Regions from separate parts of the Homo sapiens genome. Here region 2 is linked to region 1. The links are contacts of gene promoters, found by promoter capture Hi-C in blood cells and fetal thymus (Javierre and others, 2016). All regions are on one chromosome and are shown on one strand. The core of a region is centred on a gene start or on the middle of the fragment in contact, and the rest is flanking DNA. Distances in the headings are between cores, read along the strand shown. Region 1 holds the start of AP1M1 (adaptor related protein complex 1 subunit mu 1). Region 2 overlaps CYP4F8 (cytochrome P450 family 4 subfamily F member 8).

Region 1 (2,878 bases), core at 191-2,690:
TTTGTGGAGGCCTGAGGAGTTTCTTCAGACCGCCAATAAAGCTTGTTTAATCCTAAAAGGGTCCTGTTAAGAATTCCTTCATTATCTTGTCATGCTTCAAGGCCCAGGAAAGGCCTAGGCACAACTCTGGGTGGGCTTTTGTTACATCCCAGCCTTTGTATAAGGGCACTGGCTCTCTTATCTTTTAATATTTAACTTAACCCTTGTAATCCCAGCACTTTGGGAGGCCGAGGTGGGTGGATCACGTGAGGTCAGGAGTTTGAGACAAGCCTGGCCAACATGGTGAAACCACGTCTCTACTAAAAATACAAAAATTAGCTAGGTGTGGTGGCACATGCCTGTAATCCCAGCCACTTGAGAGGCTGACACACAAGAGAATCACTTGAACCCAGGAGGCAGAGGTTGCAGTGAGCCGAGATCATGCCATTGCACTCCAGCCTGGGTGACAGAGTGAGACTCCATCTCAAAAAAAAAAAAAAAAAAAAAAGCAAACAACAAAAACCCTCTCTTGGCTGCTTGCTCTGTGCCTTGAGCAAGAATCCTTCCAGCCCAGGAGTCACTTAGCAGTCTTCAAACATTCTAGTTTGCTTCTCTAGAGTTTCGGTCACATTTCTTTCCTAAGCAAAACACTATATAATTACCGAGTTGCAAAAATCATCTTTCCAAACGCCAAAACGGAGATAAGACAGAAAATAAAAGATGTGAGAGGCAGGCATCCTGGGTAAATCACTCTGGTATTGCAGGGTTGGGATCCCCAGGGTACTATGATGGCTAACTGGAACAGAATGCAGGCATTTCTCCAAAGCCCAAGAGTTCATAAAAGCAAATTAAATATGACTCAATGGATTAATCAAGGGCCACCAGTTGCATTACTGATTACTAACTTTGCAGAAATGAAACACGGTATGTTGGGTCAAGGTTCAGTGAGGCTGGTTTTCATAACATTCCAGGCAATAAACAGGCACACTCATTCATTGATAAATGTTGACAATGACAGGTGGTGACTGTTGATAAGGTTTGATTGCCATTCAGAAAGTTTGTTTGACCTCTTTCCAAGTAACCACGACCTTACCTCTCTCTTTTGAGCTTATCACAATTGGTGACTGTACACTTGTTTCATAGACTTCCCCACCAGACTGTGAGCTCCATAGGGCTGGGCCCCAGGTCGGTTTCACCACCAGGCTCTCTCGCCTAACTCGGCCCACGGGAGGCCGTTTCCAGCTGCTCTGGCTCCATAGCTCAGCCTGGCAGCGGCCACTGGGTGCCCTGATTTGGTCGGCCCCGCCCCACCGGGCCTTACTTCCGGGATGCTTCTGGCGGGAGCAAGAAACATGGTTACATACGACGTAATGCGCCTGCGCACAGTCCGTCCTGCGCCTGCGCATTCCTGACAGCACCTCCCGGACCGGACATAACGGTCCCCGCGCGGCTCCCCGAACCGGAAGTGGAGGTGAGCTGTCGCGGGCGGCGCCCGGCCTTGCTCAACGCCCAGCAGTCCCCACCGTCGCTGCCGCCGCCACCGCCCTCGGCCGCTGCCGAGGCCTCCTGCAGCCATCATGTCCGCCAGCGCCGTCTACGTGCTGGACCTGAAGGGCAAGGTACTGAGGGCTCCCCACCCTCCCTGTTGCCAGGCAACCGGCAGGGGCCTCCGCCCGCGGGGACCCACCCTGTTGCTAGGTAACCGGCTTATGAGCCCCATCCTGGTGTGAGGCAGAGAGGCCGGTAGACCTCACCTGAGAGCCCCATCCTGTTTCTGGGTAACCGGGCGGGGGTCTTAAGTGGGTAATCCCCGCCCTGTTGCTACGTAACGCGGTGGGCTGCAGCCACCGCGTTGCCAGGTAACTGACTGCACCGCCCTCTGCTCCCCGGCGCCGGGGCCGGGGGCTCGGGCCTCGGTGGAGGACCCAGAAGCGGGGCCGCAGCCGGCCTCGGAGCCAGGCAGGGCGTCCAGGGGCTGCGCGACCCTTGGCCGGGGGTGGCGAGGCGTGGCGGGGACTGGGTGCTCTCGAGCCAGTCCCGCCTTCTCAGGGCGTTACAGCTTCTGTTTATCGTGCACTTTCTCTCAGTAGGAATTTCTCCACGTTCATTGTGATAGTGAGTTACAAGGATTAGGTGAGGTGAGTGGTGATCACGAGTGCCGTTTTATAGAGGGAGAAACTGAGGCATGGAGAGGTGAAGCAACCTGACCAAGGTCACAATGGTCACAGAGAAGTAGCAAGTCTAGGAGTCCGATCCAGAATCATTCGTTTATTCAGCTGATATCTGGGGAGCACCTACTAATGCCGGGCAGGGTACTAAGCCTGGGGTCGATTTGTGTTTAGCAAAAAACAGTCCCTTTTTTTTTGTTTTGTTTTTGAGATAGTGTCATGCTCAGTCGTCCAGTCTGGAGTGTAGTGGTGCAATCTCCACTCACTGCAACCTCCGCCTCCCGGGTTCAAGCAATTTTCCTGCCTCAGCCTCCCAAGTAGCTGGGATTACAGGCACCTGCCACTACGCCGAGCTAAATTTTGTATTTTTAGTAGAGGCAGGGTTTCACCATGTTGACCAGGCTGGTCTCGAACTCTTGACCTCGAGTGATCCACCTGTCTTAGCCTCCCAAAGTGCTGGGATTACAGGTGTGAGTCATGTGCCAGGGCTCAACAATCTGTGTTCTTACGGTGTTCACAGGCTGGTAGGGGAGATGGATACCCATCTCCAAAAACACAAATAAATGTCAATTGCAGTGGTGTTGAGGGGCGAGTGTGTTATACAGACAGTCAGCCTCAGCCCGAGGATGAGAGAGGGTTTCCCTGAGGAGGGGTGACAAATGGACCAGAGACACCAGGGAGCTGGACATAAACTAGAACCCAGGCATCTTCCCCAGAGGATCTGAGAAAAC
Region 2 (3,018 bases), core at 196-2,695, 570 kb before region 1:
AGAGAGAGAGCGAGAGAAAGAGAAGTTTCCTCCAAACAAGTGGAACTGTTTGGGTCAAGGCAAGGAGGCTAAGATGAACAGAGCATGTGCAACAGGCAGTTGGGAGACACTTGGAAATGAAGGTGGAGGGGTTGGCAGTTAACTAGATCTTAAGGATCTTGAAAAGTCAGACAAAGGGAGATGCATTTTATCCAAGGTTCCTAAGGAGCCATGGAGGTGTTTGAGCAGATGAGAGACATGGTCAGTACTGAGCTTGGACACTGGACTCTATGGGACTCTATGGAAGATTGACTGTCATGTAGACACAGCATGCAAGGATGCCAGGGAGAGGAGGTCTGAGTTTGGTGGAGAAAATGGGGCAGATTTGGGAGAAACTGAGTAATAATAGGCAGGAGCAGATGTTTTATAAGACAGAGAGAGGAGATGCCCATGATGGCCAAGCTGTGCCCTGGGGACCTGGGGCAGGAGGCAGCTCACAGAGAGTGGGAGGCAGAGAGTGAAGTGCGCTTGCAGGACACCCCTTTCTGCATGGAATGTGGTCCTGGGATTCTGGCTGGAAGGTGCTCCCAGGCTTTCATGTGGGTAAGGAGCTGCTTCCTCTCTCTGGACTGGCCCTGCAGGAAGCCCAGTGAATATATTACTGCGATCATGGAGCTCAGTGCCCTTGTAGTGAAACGGAATAACCAGTTCTTCCGGTACAAGGACTTCCTGTACTTCCTCACTCCCTGTGGACGGCGCTTCCACAGGGCCTGCAGACTGGTGCACGACTTCACAGATGCCGTCATCCAGGAGCGGCGCCGCACCCTCACTAGCCAGGGTGTTGATGACTTCCTCCAAGCCAAGGCCAAGTCCAAGACTTTGGACTTTATTGATGTGCTCCTGCTGAGCGAGGTGGGCCTCTCTGGGATCTGAATTCAAGAGGTAAAATGGAGCTTCAGGTCAAATGTCAGATTGAAGGACCGGACTTGATACAGAGGGCACTAAGGAGCCATGGAAGGTGCTCGAAGAAGGGAGGGACAAGTCAGATAAATTTTAGAGGTGATTGCATAGAAAGCTTCCTGGGAAGAACAAACAGGAGGTCGGAAGGAAGCATGTGGGGGTAGATCTGGAGGTGACAAGGGAGGGATCCTTCTGGGATAATGGGTCTTCAGAGACTGTTTCAGTTTAGACTCCAGTGACCCCAGAACTAGTGTGATTGGGGTTCTTGTCTCCAGGATAAAAATGGTAAAGAGTTGTCAGATGAGGACATAAGAGCAGAAGCTGACACTTTCATGTTTGGAGGTGAGTGTCCCAGTCTGGGGCTACAGTGGGGACAGGGGTCTCTCCACTCCAGGGAAGTGGAGGGCCGGCCCTGAATCACTTCATTCTGCCCAACCTCCCCCTCCCCTCAACCTTCCTGAGAGCCTCAATGTATGGGCGCTGTCCACCCTCTGGGTGCTGAAGCAGCCCAGAGACTCAAGCCTGCCTGGCTGACCCTCAGGCCATGACACCACGGCCAGTGGCCTCTCCTGGGTCTTGTACAACCTCGCGAGGCACCCAGAATACCAAGAACGCTGCCGGCAGGAGGTGCAAGAGCTTCTGAAGGACCGTGAGCCTAAAGAGATTGAATGGTGAGTGCAGGTGCTGGTGGCTCTGCCTTTCTGCCTTTCTGAGTCCTTCTCGTTGGTTCTTCTCCCCAGGTGGGGGAAAAGGGGAGGATCTTTTTGATGATTCTGCCATTGTTGCCTAGTGGGAATAGGAGTAGAGCCCAGAAACAGGCTAGCAAGGGTAACATTGCATGCTTTGGGGACAGAATGGTCTGGGAGTCCATATTTATTTCCCCACTAACTTGCTATGCAAGCTTAGTAAAATCAATTCCCTTTTCTGAACAACTTTTCTCCTTTGTAAATTGGGGGTGTGGGGAATTGCTGTCCCACAGGGCTGCTTGGAGAATTAACGGCAAATACCGCAATGACTTTTGGACCAATCTAATATTATGATTTATCAAAACATTCTCTTATCAACGCGTGTTTTTATACTTTCCAGCCTTTTGGTATAAAAGACATGATGTGTTGAATATCGGTGTACGATGATCATTGCTGACATGTCATCTTTGTAGAGCAGATTCCTAGAAGTGCAACTGCTGAGCCAAAGACCATTTGAGTTTTACAATTCAATAGCTCTTGGGAAATCTACTGCTATACACAGATTTTGAGAATACCAAATTTCCTCATAACCTCCCCAGAAGTGCCTATTATGAAACTAAAACATTTGCCAATCTGATAGATGCAATATAATATTTTGTTATTTTAATGAACATAACTTTAAATGTGGGTAAAGTTGAGCACTGTTTTCACCTGCCGATGAGCCATCCATATCTATTTTTCTGTGAAGTCAGTTTTTGCGTAATTTGTTTTTTCTACTTTGGGTCGTACTAGTTTTCTTATTTACTTATAAAAACTCTTTACATATTAAGAAAATTATTTCTTTTTTCTGTTATGCAAAATGTTGCCTCGCATTGTCTTGGACTTTATTTTTATTTTTGGTTCATTTATTTGTCACCAAATTTATTAATTTTTTCTTTTATAATTCCTGTTTGTGTTTCTTAAAAAAATATTTAAAAACCATTTTATACTCTAATAGTAAAATGCAAAACTCTTGTTTGACTTATTTTAATAGGCTTATATATTTTTAAAAGTTTAACATTTTATCAATATTTTTCACATTTAGAAATTTTTCCCTTTGAAATCTATGTTGGAATCTATTTTTTCTCCAAATGTCTAATTGTCCCAACCAAGTTTAATGAATATTTTGTCCTTGTGTCATGATTCTAAATAACAACAAATTCACAAGAAACTATGTGTGTGTATATATATATATATAGTGTATATATATAGTGTATATATATATAGTGTTTGTGTATATATATATACACACACACATACTATATATAGTGTATACACTATATATATATGTATTTTAAGGCAACAAATAAAACCATATATATATATGCCTATCTTAGGCATGTATGTATATATA

What was found. The method cuts DNA at HindIII sites, captures the fragments that hold promoters and counts their contacts. A CHiCAGO score of 5 or more calls a contact.
Region 2: a fragment that was not itself captured here is called in contact with the fragment with the promoter of AP1M1 in region 1 in 1 of 17 cell types (fetal thymus); the score reaches 5.1 in fetal thymus.

The regions. Positions count from the first base shown.
Region 1 is chr19:16,196,471-16,199,348 of GRCh38, forward strand. It overlaps AP1M1 (adaptor related protein complex 1 subunit mu 1), which reads left to right and starts at 1,441. Exons shown (of 12, transcript NM_032493.4): 1 at 1,441-1,598. The coding sequence starts at 1,557. RefSeq lists a silencer at 1,585-1,824. The HindIII fragment of the contact is 4,202 bases long and covers 40-2,878 here.
Region 2 is chr19:15,622,485-15,625,502 of GRCh38, forward strand. It overlaps CYP4F8 (cytochrome P450 family 4 subfamily F member 8), which reads left to right. Exons shown (of 13, transcript NM_007253.4): 7 at 621-891; 8 at 1,215-1,281; 9 at 1,481-1,610. Among named protein-coding and RNA genes, the nearest start is that of CYP4F8, 8.8 kb to the left of the region's middle. The HindIII fragment of the contact is 786 bases long and covers 1,053-1,838 here.